Regions from separate parts of the Homo sapiens genome. Here regions 1, 2, 3, 4, 5 and 7 are each linked to region 6. Evidence: promoter capture Hi-C in 16 types of primary human blood cells and fetal thymus (Javierre and others, 2016). All regions are on one chromosome and are shown on one strand. The core of a region is centred on a gene start or on the middle of the fragment in contact, and the rest is flanking DNA. Distances in the headings are between cores, read along the strand shown. Region 1 overlaps SPMIP7 (sperm microtubule inner protein 7). Region 2 has its middle 210 kb from the start of GRB10. Region 3 overlaps SPMIP7 (sperm microtubule inner protein 7). Region 4 overlaps COBL (cordon-bleu WH2 repeat protein). Region 5 overlaps COBL (cordon-bleu WH2 repeat protein). Region 6 holds the start of DDC (dopa decarboxylase). Region 7 overlaps COBL (cordon-bleu WH2 repeat protein).

What was found. Contacts are between HindIII fragments. The CHiCAGO score rates a contact against its expected background, and 5 or more counts as called.
Region 1: a contact is called between a fragment that was not itself captured here and the fragment with the promoter of DDC in region 6, in 9 of 17 cell types (total CD8 T cells, erythroblasts, naive CD4 T cells and 6 more). The highest score is 8.6, in total CD8 T cells.
Region 2: a contact is called between a fragment that was not itself captured here and the fragment with the promoter of DDC in region 6, in 2 of 17 cell types (total CD4 T cells and non-activated CD4 T cells). The highest score is 5.2, in total CD4 T cells.
Region 3: a fragment that was not itself captured here is called in contact with the fragment with the promoter of DDC in region 6 in 6 of 17 cell types (neutrophils, erythroblasts, non-activated CD4 T cells and 3 more); the score reaches 6.8 in neutrophils.
Region 4: a contact is called between a fragment that was not itself captured here and the fragment with the promoter of DDC in region 6, in 5 of 17 cell types (non-activated CD4 T cells, erythroblasts, megakaryocytes and 2 more). The highest score is 7.1, in non-activated CD4 T cells.
Region 5: a contact is called between a fragment that was not itself captured here and the fragment with the promoter of DDC in region 6, in 2 of 17 cell types (erythroblasts and megakaryocytes). The highest score is 5.8, in erythroblasts.
Region 7: a fragment that was not itself captured here is called in contact with the fragment with the promoter of DDC in region 6 in 2 of 17 cell types (erythroblasts and megakaryocytes); the score reaches 6.1 in erythroblasts.

The regions. Positions count from the first base shown.
Region 1 is chr7:50,111,973-50,114,672 of GRCh38, reverse strand. All of the region lies in intron 2 of SPMIP7 (sperm microtubule inner protein 7), which reads right to left. Among named protein-coding and RNA genes, the nearest start is that of SPMIP7, 17 kb to the right of the region's middle. The HindIII fragment of the contact is 645 bases long and covers 1,021-1,665 here.
Region 2 is chr7:50,994,808-50,997,507 of GRCh38, reverse strand. No RefSeq gene overlaps it. Among named protein-coding and RNA genes, the nearest start is that of GRB10, 210 kb to the right of the region's middle. The HindIII fragment of the contact is 5,530 bases long and covers 1-2,700 here.
Region 3 is chr7:50,132,873-50,135,572 of GRCh38, reverse strand. It overlaps SPMIP7 (sperm microtubule inner protein 7), which reads right to left. Exons shown (of 9, transcript NM_001161834.3): 4 at 1,327-1,465. Among named protein-coding and RNA genes, the nearest start is that of SPMIP7, 38 kb to the right of the region's middle. The HindIII fragment of the contact is 3,110 bases long and covers 1-2,700 here.
Region 4 is chr7:51,055,706-51,058,405 of GRCh38, reverse strand. All of the region lies in intron 7 of COBL (cordon-bleu WH2 repeat protein), which reads left to right. Among named protein-coding and RNA genes, the nearest start is that of COBL, 260 kb to the left of the region's middle. The HindIII fragment of the contact is 2,340 bases long and covers 281-2,620 here.
Region 5 is chr7:51,032,651-51,035,350 of GRCh38, reverse strand. The region is part of intron 8 of COBL (cordon-bleu WH2 repeat protein); the gene reads left to right. Among named protein-coding and RNA genes, the nearest start is that of GRB10, 250 kb to the right of the region's middle. The HindIII fragment of the contact is 3,054 bases long and covers 1-2,700 here.
Region 6 is chr7:50,564,155-50,566,854 of GRCh38, reverse strand. It overlaps DDC (dopa decarboxylase), which reads left to right and starts at 1,450. Exons shown (of 15, transcript NM_001082971.2): 1 at 1,450-1,570. The HindIII fragment of the contact is 1,002 bases long and covers 1,284-2,285 here.
Region 7 is chr7:51,072,876-51,075,575 of GRCh38, reverse strand. All of the region lies in intron 7 of COBL (cordon-bleu WH2 repeat protein), which reads left to right. Among named protein-coding and RNA genes, the nearest start is that of COBL, 240 kb to the left of the region's middle. The HindIII fragment of the contact is 4,001 bases long and covers 1-2,700 here.

The DNA.
Region 1 (2,700 bases), core at 94-2,593, 450 kb after region 6:
ATAATTTAGTTTAAATCTGTTTTTGTTTTCTATTTGTTTTATCTTCTCTATTTTTCTTTTGTGTTACTTTCTTTTGAGTTAGTTAAGAATTTTTTTAATTTTAAAATTTCATTTTATCTCCTATTAACTTACTACATATGCTTTAAAAATTTTTTTCTTTTCTGTTGTTGCTGTCTCTCTAGGATTTATAGTATACATATTTTACAATATACATCTTTAACTCCAGGGTTTACAGGATAATAATATATCATTTCAAAAATAGTGTAAAAAAATTTAAACAGCATATGCTCATTTTCTTTGCTGTCCCTTATACTACTGTCACACAATTTACTTTTTTATATGCTATAAACCTGAAACACATTACTATTATTGTTGCTTTAAACAGTGATACTGTAAAGAACTCCAAGATGAAAAATAGTATTTTATATTTACCCATATGTTTACCATTTCTGTTCACCTCAATTTATTTCATTGTGTGAACTTGAATTTTCATATACATTATTTTCTTCTGTCTAAAGAAATTCCTTCAGGTCTACTGGCAGTGCATTCTTTCAGCTTTGTTTTTACAAAAAATGTTTCTATTTTGCCTCTAATTTTAAATATTTTTATTGTTAGTTAATATCTTCTTAGTTTATTGTTATTTGTTTTTGTTACTTAAAATATGTGCATTTATTTTCTTCTGGCTTGCAGAAACTGACAAAAAGCCAGAAGTCATTCTTACATGTGTTTCTTTGTAAATATCTTTTCTCTAGCTGTTTTTAAGATTTTATCTTTATCACTGTTTTTCAGCAATGTCATTGATGTGTTTTGGGCATAATTTTAAAAAAAATTTATACAGATTGAAATTTGTTGAACATCTTGTGTCTTCAGATTTATAATTTTGATCAGTTAGGAACAATTTGTGTCATTGTGTCACCAATCTTTTTTCTCAGCTCACTTTTATTCTGAGACCCCAATGCATGTATGTTAGACTTCTTACTAGATACCGTTCCGCAGTAACTGATGCTTTATTTTGAAGCTTTATTTTCTCTCTTTTCGTTTTGAATAGTTTATGTTGCTATGTCTTTATTTTCACTGATCTTTCATCATGCAAGATCTGCTCTGTTCTTAAAACTACCAACTTATCTTTTACTTCAGATGTATTTTTCATGTCTAGAAGTCCGTTTGTATCTTCATATCATCCCTTGTTCTCATCATGGTTGTGGCTGTCTCTATGATCTGAACATATGAAACAGATTTGTAATAGCTGTTTGAATACAATAGCTGCTTGGTCTTCTATGTCTGTCACTCATAGATCTGTTATTATTGACAGATTTTTCCCCTGGGTGATATTTTTCTGCTTCTTTGCATGAAAAGTAGTTTCATTTTATTTTTTAAACTGAGAACTTATTTTGGACTTTAAGTTGTTGGTTGGTTGCTGGAAGTTGTTTTATTCTTAAGTTTTGGATTTTTTTTCCAGCAAATAAAGTAATTGGAATCAGTCGGATGCTTTTAAAATTTGAGAAAGTCCAGAGGAATCTTTAAAGTTGGACTAGTTAAGCCTGACTACAAAGGTAATATCCCTTTGAAGATCTGACCTGATGTACCTATGTACTATAAAGTTTTTTATTCTAGTTTGTGGGGACATAAAACGTTCCCTGTCCTGTTTGAGTTTCAGGGAAAGCTTATGCCCACTTCTTTACAGTGGGTTTTTCCTTAGCTTTAGTAGTTCCTTTTATGTTTACATAGATCAGTACCCAAAGACCTGAGCGATCTCTTTTGCATATCTCCAAAGCCCCACTGCTCCTCCACATCCGGATAACTCCCTCTTCTCTGCTATCTTACCCTGCAAATTCTACATTCCTTGGCTTCCCAGAACTCTAATCTCTCTCCTCAATCCAACAAGAATGTAAAGCTATGTTTGGGTTTCACTTTCCTGGGCTGTGGCTTAAAAACTGCCCCCAGGAAGCAAGCTGGTGTAATTGCAGGGCTCACATCGTTAGTTTCCCTTCTTTAGAGATCCCAGTCCTTCAGTGCCTTTGGCCAGTGTCTGGAAATGATTATTTTTTATAATTTGTCCAGTTTTCTATTTGGCTAAAGCAGAAAAGTAGCTTGAGTGCCCGTTACTTCATCTTCTCTAATTTATTCATTACTTTGCTTATCATTTTTTTATTTTTCTTTTCGTGCTTTCTTTTGATTTACTTTGCTGTTCATTTTGTAGCTTTTCACCTGGGAAGGGTGCTACTGGCATCTAGTGGGTGAGGTCAGGGGTGTTGCTAATCATCCTACATTGCACAGGATAGTCTCCTTCAGCAAAGATTTATGAAGCCCAAAATTCTGACCATGCCAAGGTCCAGAAACCATGGTTTAACACATTCTGTTCCACTGCTTGGTTTTTGCTCTTCAGGACCTCCAATTATATGTATATTGTTTCTTCTTTGTTTATCTTCCACTTCAACCATCTTCTCTTTAACACTTTTAAATATTCTTTATCTCATGTTCATTCTCTTGAATATTTTTTCATTTTTTATTCAACGTCCTTTGTTAAATTTTGGTTTTCTCTGTTTTTCCTTTGCACCATTTAATTATTATTCCAAGATAATTTTGTATTATTTTTTGTCACTGATTTGTATTTAATTTTTGGATTTCTGTATGAAGGCAGACCTTTATAATCTCAAAGGCTTATTTGAAAATATGTAATTCAATTTGTAGTGGTGTAGT
Region 2 (2,700 bases), core at 32-2,531, 430 kb before region 6:
TGGCAGCTGCTGAAAACCAAGAGGAGACTTTAAGCAGATGAAATCGGTGTCCTGTCTTTGAGAGGTAAAAGAATGTTGCTTTAGTCAGGCCATGGACCTTGTTGTAGCAAAGATCACTCTCTGCCCATTACCAACTGTGCAGTATAAATAAAAAACCTTTGAAAAAAATAAAATAAAATAATAAAATAACTGTTTTATTAAAAGCTGGTGGAAAAAAATCTTACAAAAATCATATCAGGTTTTCTGTTACTGCATAAATTCACTTAGGATAATGGCCTCCAGCTGCATCTGTGTTGCTTCAAAGGACATAATTTCATTATTTTTAATGGCTGCATAGTATTCCATGGTGTATATGTAGCATATTTTCTTTATCCAGTCCAACTTTGATGGGCTCCTGGGTTGATTCCACATCTTTGTTATTGTGGATAGTGTTGCAATGAACAAGTACAAGCGTGTGTGTGTCTTTTTGATAGAATGATTTGTTTTTCTTTTGGATATATACCCAGTAATGGGATTGCTGGGTTGAATGGTAGCCCTGTTTTAAGTTCTTTGAGAAATCTCCAAACTGCTTTCCACAGTGGCTGAACTAATTTACATTCCTATCAACAGTGTATAATGTTCCCCTTTCTCCATAGTCTTTGCCAACATCTGTTGTTTTTTGACTTTTTAATAATTGCCATTCTGACTGTGGTGAAATGGTACCTAGTTGTAAGTGGGAGCTAAACACTGGGGACTCATAGATGTACAGATGCAACAATAGACACTGGGGACTACTGGGAGGGAGGGGAGCAAGGCTTGAAAAACTGTTGGGTACTGTGCTAGGTACCTGGGGGATGGGGCCATTTATATGCCAAACCCAAGCATCACACAATATACCCAGGTAACACACCTGGACAGGTACTACCCTGAATCGACAATAAAAGTTGAAAAAAATTAAAAATTAAAAAAATTTAAAGATACTTGCATCCACATGTTTATCACAGAGCTATTCACAATAGCAGAGATATGGAATCAACCTAAGTATCTATCAGCAGACTACTGGATAAATAAAATATGATATATATATGTATATATATATACACCATGGAATACTGTTCAGCCCTAAGAAAGAATGAAAGCATGACTTCGCAGCAACATGGGTAGCACTGAAGGCCATTATCTTAAGTAAAACCACTCAGACACAGAAAGGCAAATGTCACATGTTCTCACTTATAAGTGAGAGCTAAATAACATGTACACATGGACATAGAGTGTGGAATGAGAGTCAAAAGGGGGAAGTAGACAGGAGTGGAGTAGATGATGAGAATTTACTTAATGGGTTCAATGTACATTATTTGGGTGGTTGGGTGATGGATACCCCAAAAGCCCAGACCTCATCATTATGCAATACATCCATGTAATAAAATTGCACTTGTACCCCTTAAATTCATATAAATAAAATAAAACATATACTGAAATAGTCTTATCAGGAGAGATAAGAGGCCAGGTGTGGTGGTTCATGCCTGTAATCCCAGCACTTTGGGAGGCCGAGAAGGGTGGATCACCTGAGGCCAGGAGTTCGAGACCAGCCTTGCTAACATGGTGAAACCCCGTCTCTACAAAAAGCACAAAAATTAGCTGGGCATGGTGGTGCGTGCCTGTAATCCCAGCTACTCAGGAGGCTGAGGCAGGAGAATCACTTGAACTCGGGAGGTGGAGGTTGCAGTGAGCCAAGATCGTGCCATTACACTCCAGCCTGGGCGACGAGAGCGGAACTCCACCTCAAAAAAAAAAAAAAAGGAAAGATAAGACAGACTTCTTACTAATTAGCCCCATGGAATATAAAATGGTCAACTCTTATTCATCTTCACTAAATGTAAATAGAACAGTGGTAATAAAAATACACAATACATCACATAATATTCAGGTTGGAGAGGAGCAGCTGGACAAGAGGCCCCTATCATAAATCTATAAACATCGAGAACACTTTAAGGACCATCAAAGCCAAGCTAACTGTGGGTTCTCTCCCCAGCGATGCCTATGCTTTATGTCATCCATTTATTCGACAAACACATTCTGAGCATCCACTCTCCTTCACTGGAACAAAGAAGAGAAACACAGTCCCAGCCTCCTGGAACTTGGGCACACGGCATAGCTCTGTTCTCTGCAAGAACCCTCATTCTGTCCTCCCTGGCAAGAGCAGGGTGTGGCTGTAAGCAACCTCAGAGCTTCAAGGACAAAGTTATCTTTTGTTTCCTTGGTTGGTGTCATTTCCCATCCCCAGGTGAACATGGGCTACAGGATTTTTAAAAGGTGACCAACAGGCTGTCAATAATGCTAGGAAAGAAAAGTGGCCTCTATTGCTAAAAGGAGAACTGAAACTCAGTGAGCATCCTGAGGGCAGTTTCGTGCCCCACAGAAGGGAGGGTGCAGGCTGTAGAAGGAAGGCCAAGCTCAGCAGGCAAACAGGCAGATGGCCCTAGGAAGGCAGGAGCTAGGATGCCGGCCCAAGCCAGCCTCCATAGGAGCAGTGGGACAGGTAGGGCAGAGAACTCAGGTCACTGTTGAAGGATGTGGCTCTTTCCTCACTGGACCGCAAGCTCTTTAGACAGGATTGTCACTTCTGTGCCCCCAAGCTCCTAGCAAAGGGATGCATGAGAGTGGCCTAAGAAAGCCGTGCTGTGATATGGATATCTATGCTTCAAATGGCTTCTCTGCCCT
Region 3 (2,700 bases), core at 167-2,666, 430 kb after region 6:
AATCATATATATTTTTATTTTAATTCACTTTTTCTATGTGAAAAATCTCAGGTTTGAGTCTTTATATTAAAGACATGTTTTTCCTCTTTTATTATCATTTTTCTCTGTAAAAGCTGAATAAATTTTACAAGAAAATATAGGCATCTTAACCTACCATCAGGGGACCTCTTGGGATCTATATTAAGAGCTGTATTTCAATATAATTGATTTACTTTTTAATCCTATGGATTTTGTGTACTCAAAAACTTCATTATGGGAAAAGCCCAAGGGCTTAACCAGACTCCTACGCGTGAGAAGTGGCACAAAAAGATAAAGGAATCAATGGAAGTAGAAGGTACTTCGCAAGCACAGAGCTGAGACATCTAATCCAGTGTTGGGAGGTCAAAAGTGAGGGTTACAATAAGACCTGAAGAATTCTTGAGATTCACCTAGCATAAATAGGGAGAGTGATGAAGGCAGTGGAAGACTCTTTGCAAAGCACACAACCTGGAAACGAGCATGGGAGACTTGAGGACTTGAGAGAAGCTCAGCAGAGAAAGGACAGAGTACACTGTGGGGTGATGTTTGGGCAATAAAGAGGAACAGTAAGAAGACGAGAACGGGGCAGGGATGAAGCTAAGGAGGGAACCATGGGCAAATAATGGAGAATTGGGTCTGTGTCACGTCAAGGAGTGTGGATTTTATTTTTAAATAAAAAAGGATGGGTTTAATCAGTGGAGTAATACAAACAGATTCACACATTACGAAAAGTTATCTGGCTATGGCATAGATATGATAATTCCTGTGATAAATTCTTCTTGACACTCGGAAATAAAAAGAATGAGTGTCACTACTGAAAAGTTGGTATGCTTTGTTTTATCACATAATAAGTGACAACATCAGATAGCAATCTATGGATCTTCTCTTTTTGCCATGAAAAGTACAGAGCTAAGATCTAGATCCTGTGTGAAGAACCATCTTCAGCATAGGTTATCTGGTAAAATTATTTCTGTCTTCTTCATTATTTACTCATTCTCTTGCAATTCCAAAAATAAACACAGTCATTGCAAATAACTTTTGAGAAAGAGGTAGTCTTTACATAATCAATAAAAGTTTTGAATATTGAAAACATCAAAGTATTTGCAGTCATCAATAACTTGCACGATTACGGAAATTTCAACTCCATACGTGTGTGTGTGTGTGTGTGTATATATATTTACTTATCTTACATAAATTTACTTCCTTAGGTATTGTTAACAATAAAATAAGTATTATTTTGACTTAAAGTTTTAGAACTCATTTCAATAACAATGAGAAATACATTATTGTTCAGAGAAGTCTGCTGACCTGAGTTATTGCTGGCACCCCTTTATATCTTTTCAGAGTAAAACACTGTGAGATGGGGTCAGCGGTTTTTTCCAATGTTGTTTCTTCTGGAACAAGTTTTGGTGGTAGCATCTTATCCCAAGGAACATCTTCATAAGCTCTATGAAGTTATTAAATAGGAACATCTTATGAAAAGCATATTCAATTGGTAAAGTTTATAACAATATGATACTATGATAAGAGAATCCGAAGATGACCCTGAGGATCCCTGCCCCTTGGTGTGTATACCATATATAATCACCTCCCCTGGACAGTAGGCAGAGCAAGTGATTATGATGAGGTAGTACTCCTGTGTTATGTGATTTTATATGCCCCAAGAGATTGGCACATGTAGTAAAGGTCCCTAATTGGTTGAATTTGAGTTAATCAGAAGGTGGGATTTTCCTGAATAGGCCCAACCTAAGCAAGCAAGCTCTAAAAAAGAGACACAAAACAACAACACATGCTCTTTGTCTGCCCTTGAAGAAACAAATGTCAGTCCTATAGCCACAATAAATGGAATTCTGTCAACAACCTGAATGATCCCGGAAGATGAGAACCAAGTCTCATCTGACACCTTGATTCCAGCTTTAGGGAACCCTAAACAGTAAACCCAGTTGGGACATACCTAGACTTCTGACCTACAGGACTGCTAGATAACAGAAGCTGCTAAATTCCTGCAGTCTGTCACACAGAAGTAGAAAACTTACATACATCTTACAGTTTCCAAAAAAATGCTCATTTGACCTTCAGAGGATACCATTAATTTACAAATCAACTATGGCTTAGAAAACTGATTTCCTTTGCTTAAGGTCAGCTATTGGTCAAAGTCAGGACTCTCCCCTGCAAAAATAATCTGCCTCCTAAGATTCAGCAACAGTCCCACTATTCCACACTAATGCAGCCAAATTGTACAAGTTTTTTGGCATGGTTGAAGGGCTTCAGCCGTCCTATGACATGCAATTATTTTAAACACACACACACACACACACAAACACACACACACAAATATGGGGATCTTTGGAGTTTTGAAAGTTGTTCTTTCACAGGCATATATGACAGACACAGTGAAATCAATTCCAGTTGGATCCTGAGTGAAAACCATACAACCCTCATTCTAAAGACTATATTCTGACAAGATAGATGGATCCCCAGACCTTCTCCTGCCCTATTCACACTTAGTGTGAAACTTGATCTTTCCATTCTATGGACAAGGCATATCTTTCCAAAAAAATCCCACTGTGAGTCAAAGTCATTTTTAAAAGAATTACCAGTGATTCTCACTTCCTCCACATATATTTGTTCAGAGATAACTATATTTCAAGACTTGTGCTAGGTGTTTACGATACAAGAATG
Region 4 (2,700 bases), core at 201-2,700, 490 kb before region 6:
AATTTTTAAAACTTTTTGTAGAGACAGACAGGGTCTCGCTTTGTTGCTGAGGCTGGTCTCACATTCCTGGGCTCAAGTGATCCTCCCACCTCGGCCTCCCAAAGTGCTGGGATTACAGATGCGAGTCACGGTACCCATAATTGTTTAAATTGACACAAAAGATGGAGAAAAATGTGTCTTTAATCTGTTGAGTACAAAGTGCATACATAAACATAGAAGGGCAATGTATCTGATTTTCTTCAAACATTTAAGAAATTTTGTTACGTTTATCCAAAAAGCTTCTAAAAAAAAAAGATTACCAAAAAAAGCAACCTAATGTAAACCATGGTTATCTTGGGGATAAGTGATTATTTTCTTTCCAAATGTTTGTGTTTTCCTTACTTTCTATATGAAAGAAAAAGAAAACAAACTTCATTTTAAAAACTAAAATAATCCTAATTTAAAAACTCTGGTAGAATGTGGTCATAGGAGGGTATCCGTAATAAGAGGAATGGAAGAGGTGAGGTGTGGCCATCTATCCTTTCAGGGCATGGAGGGGAAAATGGGGTCCCTGCCTCGCAAGGGGACAGCATCCAACTTCCAGTCCCTGGGACAGACCCTGAAACCCTAAGGCTGGAGCCCCAGCATCTCATGTAGGTTATTTTGAGTGTTGGTGGGTTTTGCTGAGGTGAGTGTTTTCTGGCCAATAAAGCCAAGTTATTTTGGGCCACCATAATTGTGAGTTAGACAGGTGGTTTGTGTGTGAAACATTTAATTTGCTGGCTGTGTAGTCTGTTGACTTTGGATAAGGCTAGAAACAATTCTATACTAGTTTCCCAAAATGATGGGCCCTGATGCTGATCTTATCACTGTTACAAGCAGACGCACAGTGCCAAGGCAGGCTGGACTACGGGAGGGGAGCTCTAGAGAAAAATCTTGTTACTATTCATTGCTTTTATGCTGACTACTCTACTGTATTTGAGTACCTTTTAAGTATAGTAGTCCCCTGCTTATTCACAGGGGGATATGTTTCAGGACCTTCCATGGATGCCTGAAACCTCAGCACTGAATATATGTGTGTGTGTGTGTGTGTATGTGTGTGCGTGCACGCATATATATATACTGTTTTTTTCCTATGCATACATACCTGTGATAAAGTTTAATTTCTGCATTAGGCACAGTGAGCAACAATGACTAGCAATGAAATAGGACAATTATAACAATATGCCAACATCAGTACTCTTGTGCTTTGGGCCATTATTAAGTACAGTAAGGGCCCCTGAACACAATCTCTGCAACCTTGAGACAGTCCGTCTGAGAACCAAGACCACTGCTAAGTGACTCACAGGCAGGGGAGGAGACAGTGTGGATCCACTGGAAAAAGGGAAGATTCCCATTCATGGTGGGACAGGACAGGATGGCAGATTTCACCAGGCTACTCAGAAGGACACGTGATTCAAAACTGACCAAGTGTTTATTTCTGCAATTGTTCATTTAATATCTTGGTTGATCACAAGTAACAAACTGCAGAAAGCAAAACCTCCAACAAGGAGGGACTACTATGATGGTTTTTGCCGTGTGTGTGTGTGTGTGTGTGTGTGTGTGTGTGTGTGTTGGGAGAGCACTGTATACAAGCATAGTTATTAGTCATTTCGCTTTTCTCCACTCACTTTTAATGGTATGTTAGCATTGTGTGATTTCTAAAAATACTCAGAAGAGAACTCATCTTGGAACAAGCCCCGATTAGAGTATCTTTTCAATATTAAAAGATATGTTTTATTCCTTAGTCCAGAACCAGGTAACAGTTTAAATTAGTCATCTTCACAGTCTTTGCTATTTAATCTGACCCAAACTTCAGGCAATTGATACAAATAACTAATAAGGCAAAAATAACCCAGCTGGCCAGGAAACTGATGCCCTGAGGTTGCAGATGGAGGCACTGATGCAGAGACACCAGACAGGTCATCCTTGGAGACTCAGGTTTCAATGCTGCCATTGATGAGGGCTCATTTCCCCCGGTGACGATACAGGCACCTCTCACTAGCCTTTTGACAGCCTTTTGACACCTGGGATGTAGAGGCTCTTTGCTGCCTCTCCTCTGTTTTCTCCAGCATCTCGGGGTCCCATTTGCTCACACTCAGGCTGTGCCACCCCTACCCTGCTCAGCTCTCCTCCCCCTGCTCTTCCTCATGCCCCCACTTCATCATGCACCCCCCCATATTGTTTCTTTGCTCTTTGTTTTTGACGTAGTTTACAAACATTTGGAATGTGTTTTATTTTTGTAAGTAATTTCCTCATTCTGTCTTTCTGAAACTATTCTATTATAGTTTCCGCAAGTAATTATTTCAGCTCTACTTCTGTCTGAAGAAAAATGACATTTGTAACTTTGTTGAGGGCATTTTGGGACAAGTTCCCATGAAACAGGAGACATGTGAAGAGCACTGAGATGGGAAATGGAATCTGCTAATTTTAGAAAAAGGCAAATACTCCTGCCTTTTGAGAGCAGGGACTGAATGTGACTTTTTAAAACTGGTCGTCCGTTAACTCCAGCGCCTGTTGTTGGAGACAGCTGTCTTTGAACTATTGCAGGGAATAGGTTTCAGTAAGATGACAACAGAAAGCTACATGGGGATACAAAGCTTAAATGTAGGTGGTTCTCACCTGCAGCCCAGTGAGGGGAGAAAGCCGGCTGGCCAGGAACTCTGGGGGAGGTACGAAGGA
Region 5 (2,700 bases), core at 62-2,561, 470 kb before region 6:
CTGTACTAGCCTCATCAAAAAGAAAAAGTGACCTCATGTGCTATGAACCCATCTTGTACATTTCGGATTGGTCAGATTCAGCCCATTCTCCCTCATAGCAAATGAAAACAACAAATCAAAAAGCGCTTTTGGCTCCTGGCACTAACTGAATTTGACTGTCCCTAGTTCTCGTTTTTGCTGGAGGCTGGGGTATGAATGCAGAGGCTCAGCAAGCCCTGCACACACCCGGCTGGGTGGATCGGTCAGCCTGCCACCCTCCGACCATCCCAAGAGGCTGGGCCCAAGGACGCAGGTCCACTTCCTGGGCAGACTCTGGTTTGAAACTTGCCGGTGCTGAGCTGTGTCCCTCATATTGCATGCCCCAGTAGCCTAAACATTCACATTCCCTGCAGAGTCCCCAACTCCGTGTGAGAAAATAACTGCAATACTTATTCAACACATGCAGCCTGATATCAAAATGTCTTCCCTGTGTTTGTTTGCATTTATTTCCTTGATCTTAAGCCAGAACAAACTGTCAATAAGGAACGTTTCTAAAGATTGAGGTATGTGTTGGTGGGGGGGAAGGAAGCCCGGGAGAAAAACATCTGGGCAGGTTTACTTTAAGCTAACAGAGGCTGATGTTTCTTGCTGACTGCTAACTCTTCAGGGACACATACCTAGGGCTCCCCTGCTAAGCCCACAGGGAACTGGCCTCCAAGCCCAGTGACTAAGGGCATAAATCTGGTGGTTTTGCAAAGAGAGAGGAATGTTTATAATCCATTAGTAACCCTTTGGAGAGAAGTAGATGGGAGTTAGTAAGGAAGGAAAATACTGCTGTCTCTCCCTCCTGCTTTCTTACACTGGAAAGTAAAATCACTACATTGCCATTGGCTCTGGCTTTTGCTAGATAATCCATTCATACATGCTCAGAACACAGCCGCCCTGTTTTGCATCAAAAGAAGAGCAGGCTGCTCCTCTTTCCTCTCTCAGAGATGCCAGGAGCTTGGCAGCCTCAGGAGGAACACCAAACAAGGTCCTGGGCTGCGTGGTGGCCAGACCTTCCCTCACTCCACGGTGCACACAGGCTGGGAGCTCCTAGCTCATGTCCACTCTTTCTTTCAGGGCAAGCAGGGCCCCAAGGAGCCAGCCCCACACTGAAGTGTGGGGGAGCAAAGCTGGAGCAGAGGTGGGATGCAGAGGTACCAGCATTGCCTGGAACCAAGCAGCAGCGTCCGGGGCAACCTCTATAGAGTGCCAAGTGAGGCCAGTGGTGGGAGGGAGCTGGACAGGAAAAAACACAGGGATGAAGGACTAGGGCTGAGCACAGGGTCCCCAGACTCCAGAAAGGCAGCTGTAACTGGTGGATAGGGGAGAAACCAGCTCAGAAGCAGCCCCAAGCGCCTGGAGCTGGGCTCCTGCTGTTTCTAGAGGGCAGGGAGCCCGGAGCCTGGGAGGAGGAAGGTGTTGAAGGGCTGAGACTGTTCAGACCTTGTACAGCCTCTCTGTTACAGTTTCAGGCTGACAGCCACGCACTAAGATTGCTAGGCACTCAGTAACAAAATAAAGTGCTTACTGTGTGCAGTGTAAGAAGAATGCAGACTCCTTTGCAGGAAAGAATTCTTGTTCACTAAAGGACAAAATTATCCTTTTAAATTTTGCTGGCTAAAAATTTGCTCTGTCACTCAAGCTGCTTTGAACTCAACCAAGCACAGTTCTAAAGAAAAAGGGTAAAATATTCATCCTAATTCATCCTTTTCCTTAAGTCATGCTGGTTGGTTTCTTGTTAGATTTCTGTCTCCGCCTTGTCCAAAGGTATTTGCTATTTTTAAATCATCACAGTGTTTCTATATATGTGTGTGCTGATTTCTTCACATAACATGCTAACATAAGCATGGATGTGTGTTTCTACATAGACTTAATGATCATCATATTTACTGATTTTAATGCCCTTTGAAATATATATGTAATAATTTAGGTAACTGCCTAGTGCTGGACATTTCTAGAATTCTTACATGAACTTTGTTGTATTTATATTTTTCCTTCTATAGGGTTTCCTTAAAGCAGATTATTAAAAAAGAGATTAATGGGCCAAAGTTCTTACAAAGATAACGTGATTTTTGTTTGTGTGTTTTTTGATATGTATTTCCACATTGCTTTCCAATTAAAACCTGTAGCAACAAGTGTGGGTCTGTCAGATTCATCACATCTTCATCAGCTTGGGGTGGGTTTTTGTTTTGTTTTGTTTTGTTTTGCTATTTTGCAAAATGGTAGAATCAGTGGAGTTTTTATCTTATTATTTTTTTTAATTCTTATTGATATCATTATGTTCCATGTCTCATAGTGACGTGATCAAGCATACTTTAAAATAAAGGCAAATACTTTGAAGTAAAAGTATGTCTGTAATTTTGTTTGGCTGGGCTTTAAGCATCCTAAACTAAGAGCAAGCATTTAAAAAGTTTTCCATCTTTCCAAGTATTTAAATCTCTTTTCCATTTCAGATTGCTCTTTTATATGGCAATTTCCATTTTTCTCTGCCATATATTTTATTAAAAATTTAAATGTATTTAAACCATCTCATTCCATGAAAGAGAAAAGCAGAACTTTAGTAAAGTGCATTCAAATAATTAAAGTCCATGGCAAAAGCAATAGGGAAGACAGTCATGCACCTCTTGTGGTCCTTATTAATGGGTCCACATGCACACACATCTCCAACCAGCCCCC
Region 6 (2,700 bases), core at 201-2,700:
GCACTTATGGGGAATATTAGCACGCTTCTTCATCTCAAGCCCCCCCTCCCTCCCCCAGCCCATCTCCTAGAATGGATTCACTTGAATTCACTCCTGGTTTGCAGGAAAGTGCAGAAATCCAAGGAATGTGGTGGGAATTGGTGGTCCAACTTAAAGGGTCTAACCCTTTCACCCTTATCTCCCTCTGATCCATTTTCTACCCCAGAGCCAGAGTGATCTTAAACCATAAGTAAGCTAAGGTTACTGCTTTCTAGAAACACTTCAATGCCTTCTATTACAGTTGGGGGGATACAAATTACGTAACGTGGCTTGCAAGACTCCCCCTCCCCTACTTTGAATGGTCCTTAGGAGTTGGCCTTCTGTCAGGGCCTGGGAGATGCCGAGCTTGATCCTCAGTAACTTTGCAGAGGCTGTTCCCTCTTTGGAGCCCTTCCCTCACTCTTCCCCTTACCAAGGACAATCACTTCTTCGGTTCTCAGCTCCTGTGAGACCCCAGGCGGGAGCATTTGGGTGTGCGTCATTGGAGGGCTCACTTGCCATTCTTTCTCTTTTCCCTCTTTCCTCCAATGGCTCCTGTGGAGGTTTTGAGACTCCTCAATGTCACTCTGCTTCTCTCTCCAGTTCCAGTCCTAACAATAGGAACCCTAGGTGCCCCGCCCCAGCCTGCTCCAGTCCCCTAGGATAGAGCAAGGAGAGCTCTTCCCTGCATCTAGCCTGTGACAAATGGCTCTAGTGACAGCCCTCTCTGCCTTGTTTCCAGTCCTTTAATGAGCTGCCCGCAGCCAGCCTCACTCTCACTCTGCTCTTCACACCCACTGAGCCCCACGCTTGGAGCTGCTGGGGGTCTGCCAGAAAGACCAGCTCCTAAGATCCCTGCAGGCTGTGCCTGCTCAACTTCTCAATGTGGCTTTCTCAGCCCTGCTTTGTGCTCTCATAAAATTCTATCGACTTTGGGGTTTTTTTATAAATTTGTCCAAATTCCACTCAGAGTATTGTTTCATGCATCTCAACTATGATTTTGATGGGTTTGGGGAAGGAAGGTGAGTTCCTGGGTTCTGCTGATATCTGAACCTGGAAATCTTACCCATATTGCTGAGTGCTGCACCGGGAAGTGCAGGCTTACTTTGGGGCTGCCTTCAGGGGCAGGAGGCTGTGTGCAATGCAGGCATCACCTGGTGCAGGGCTGGAACATATCAGATGACTTAATGGGCTCCAAACTTGAAATCAGGGCTGCTTAGTAAAAGATGGGATGTATGTAGAATTACATAAGAAAGATCCAAGCTTCCAGGATTTGGAATGAAACAGTCTCTTCAGAATGTGCTCTCAGGATTCCCAGAGGCGAGCTATTTCTCAAGATTTCCTTGACCTTTGTCACCATCAGGAATTAATGTTTAACTGGCACATGTGGCTGGAAATGCAAGAAGAGGGAAACGTGTGGCTTGGAGTTTCAAGAAGAGTGACTGTCTCAGTGCCGAGTGCCTCAGCAGCTTCTCCACATGCTCTTCAGTCCCCAAAGTTGGAGAATCCCATCAAGGAGAGTAGCCCTGTAAGGAATTCGAATTTCCAGCATGTAAGTCTCTGATTTTATACCTACTCAGATTGTAGTAGTGGAAAACAGCAACATGTACCTTGACTCTCTGGCCCCATGTTACTGAACATTTGCTTAAAGGTTAACTCACTTGAGGGAGCTTGTGTGGTGCTTTCTCTTCTGCTGCAGGCTGGCAGGGGTTTTTGTTCAGTGGGGGCTGTGCACTTGGTGGCTCTCCATGCACACACAGTCACTCCAGTGACACATGTTTGATAGGTGCTGGGAATGATTTCATGACTGGCTCAGTAGCAAATGCGGGCCAGATGTGATTCTATTTTTTCCATGCACCACCAGGGATGGTGTTGGGTATTTTATTCCCCCAGCCTCTGTTTCTTCTGTAAATGAGGATTTTCTTAGTATCTACCTTGTGAGGATTAAATCCCATGATTTTATGGAGGTGATTAGTAAATGTGAACTCTGCCCTTCCCTTTATAACATCTGAGGCTCCGTCAGGGCTCTCTCCTTTTGGTGTATGTTATAGTTTACTTAGAGGTCAATTTGGTGTCTACCTATGCAGTGTGATTTGAGGAGAATTAGAAGATCTTTCCCACCAACTTGCCATGCTGAGTACAATTCCCATCTGAAAACATATGCGGATAGGAATTTCTATTGGGAGAATTGTTCGGTTATCGACTTCAAGGAGTCGAAGTTCTCCTGGTTTTAAGTCTGTTGTCGGAAGTATATAAGAATCAAAGCTTAATCGATGGAAATCATTGCTCTCCATCATGCGTGAGTTAAAACCATTACTTCTGAGTGGTCAGTTTACATTGGGCTCTGTCTAGAAGGTTTGCCTTCTTCACCTCCAGTCACATCCCCATTTCACAAGTGAGCAAACAGCCAGAGGAGGGGAGGAGGATGGCATAAGATCTTGCAGCTGGCAGAGACGAAATGTGAATGTAGCCCGTTTGCACTTGGTGCTGTCGGGCAGCCAAGCAATCCAGTGTGTAGGTCCAGGGCGACAAGCGCTGCTCCCATGGCTGGGGTAAGTCCCTCCAGCATTCAGCCTTGCTCCCTGTGCTTATCTGGATGCGGTGTAGGATGAAGATGACCCTATAGAACTCTACCCTGGAAGTCCTGGCAAAGTGGATATGTGACATTTTTGAAACCAGGGA
Region 7 (2,700 bases), core at 118-2,617, 510 kb before region 6:
AAGTAAATTATATAGACATACAATTAAATAAATAATATTAAAAACAGAGGTAACAAATACTAAAAACTCATCACTTCCTAATTATTTTAGTACATTTCATTACTATTTCAGTGTTCTTGAGGTTGTTTACATGTATCGGATCTGTAGGATTTAATGCTTTAGAATAGTAAAAATATATCATAGTGTGCTACTACACATCTCTTCACAGCACCGCATTCAGTGACTGATGTCAATAGCAGGAAATCAACCATCAAGAAACTATTTATAGCATAGGAATTAGCAAATGTTACAAATCAGATATTGATTGGTCTTGTTAATTGTCTAGATATAAGACAGTGATTGGGAAATGTAATAATACAGATTAAATAGAAAAGTATGTCATATCTGTAGCCAATACATTGTGAATAGCAGAAAAAATTGAGTTGTACATCCATTTTCCAAAAACCATGATCAATTCAGCCAAGTCATTCATGGGATTGACAAATGAGTAAAATTCCAACATATATCTTTCTGGTTTTATTCTCATCTTACTGTCTGATGCCATCATGTTGAAGTTATACTTCTTTGTTAACGGTAATAATTGACTGGCTACAGGTTAAAGAATCTGGGAAAAATTAATGAAAGCATTCTATGAGAATCAACTGGTAATACAGAATTTACAAAAAATAGTATTATGCATTTTATTATTACTTATAAATTTTGTGCTACTTATCCTTTATATAAGTAAAACTGATTATAACTATTTATACCTTTTTCCTCCAAAGAGCTGGTTACTAACCATTTACCAAAATACCACTGCAAAGTAGTAACAAATATGAATAGAAATGGTGAAAAGAAGTAATATTATTTAGTTAAGAAACCTGAGAACAGATTTCTTTGATTTTCATGAGTGCTCAAGCCCTAAGCTGATGCAAATAATCACAACTGTATTTTGTTTCCTTGAGCTTTAACTAGTAGCATGTACTCAGGTTACGTATAAAAACCATGTTGAAGAACTTCTCTTTGGGTTTATATAAATTTGAGTCCTTCCCAGAAATAAGGCATAAACATCTTGATTTTTCAACAATGGTTTGAAGTTGTTATTAAATATCATTACCTTCACGCCTGTAATCCCAGCACTTTGGGAGGCTGAGGCGGGTGGATCACGAGGTCAGGAGATCGAGACCATCCTGGCCAATATAGTGAAACCCCATCTCTACTAAAAATACAAAAATTAGCCAGGCATGGCGGTGCATGCCTATAATCCCAGCTACTCTGGAGGCAAAGGCAGGAGAATCCCTTGAATCAGGGAGTTGGAGGTTGCAGTGAGCCGAGATCGCGCCACAGCACTCTAGCCTGGCAACAGAGCGAGACTCTGTCTCAAAAAAAAAAAAAAAAAAAAAAATCATTACCTTGTTTTACTAGTTAAGAAGTAAATAGAGATTATGAATCAGGCATTCTCTTATGACAATAGTCTTCTAAACTGTTTGTCTCAGGAGGTTTTGGGTGCTGATGTGCACTCAGGCATGGCCCTTCTTTATTTTAATCCCTTTCCCCCAAGGCCTTCAGAGATTTAAAGCTACTCTCATGTAATAGCCCTTTGCACCACAGGTCAGTCTCCCACTAGAGAAAACAGCAGCACTCAAGAGGAGTTTGCTCCACAGGTACTTGGAGTTGATATCCATCTCCAACTCAGTAAATCAACCAGTATTCTCTAAGTTTATATGTGGGGCCTGCCCAGTGTCACCATTATCAAGATGGGATACACTGAAATTGAGGGCATCACAAAGCCATATGGTCTGTTTTCCTCTGGAGTTCTACAAGTAACTTAGACTGTTTTTCAAGAGGTAAGAAATAAATGACTTGCCTACCAGCTGCTTCGTGTCTCGGCTTGTAAGGACCTTAGGTTTCATACCAAATCCAAATAATTTTATGTGGCAACCTGAAAGACCAACCATGAGGGAAGTGATGCTTATGATATGGTTCTTACAGGAGGCAGAATCATATCTGTTGGATCAATAGGCCCTTTCCACAGCTGGCATACAAAAAGACTAAATGGAAAGGAAGAAAACAATAACAATATGCTTTGGCTGATAGAACGCTTGCTATGCAGTGTTAAATCTCCAGGGGCTGGAAAATGAATGATAATGGCAGATATTTATTTCACCGCAAGTGTGCGTTCACATTTTGCCATTTATTTTCCCCCCGCAGTTTATTGCTGTGCGTCATTCCCTACTCAGGCCAAGCGCTTCTGATGGACGGGCCTCTTCCTGACCTCGGACCTTTCCCAGTGTCTCTTCTGCCCTGGCTCTGATTTTCCTGTTGTTCTTCCTCCTTTCAGGATAAAAGGGCTCATTGTATACCCAGAATTTACTTCCTTTGGGGTTTACATATAAATGCATTAATAACAGAGATTTGTTTGATTGAGGTTTATATTTTTTTGAAGGAGGTAAATTATATGCAAATTTTAGGTTGATAATATTCACCTGTCTGAAATTCACTGATACTTGGAAATGTTCCTGTGAAGAACTCTGCTTTATTTTAATTCATTATTAATTCATGTTTTTCTTATTGGATATTCAGTTCCAGAATTTATTGCCAATTTTTCTTAAAACTAGATTGTATCCATAAATTGACCAGTATAGTCAATTTGGATAGAACTGAAACTTTCTGTCTACCTGGTAAAACTAAGTGCCTAAAAACATGAACTATAAATGTAGT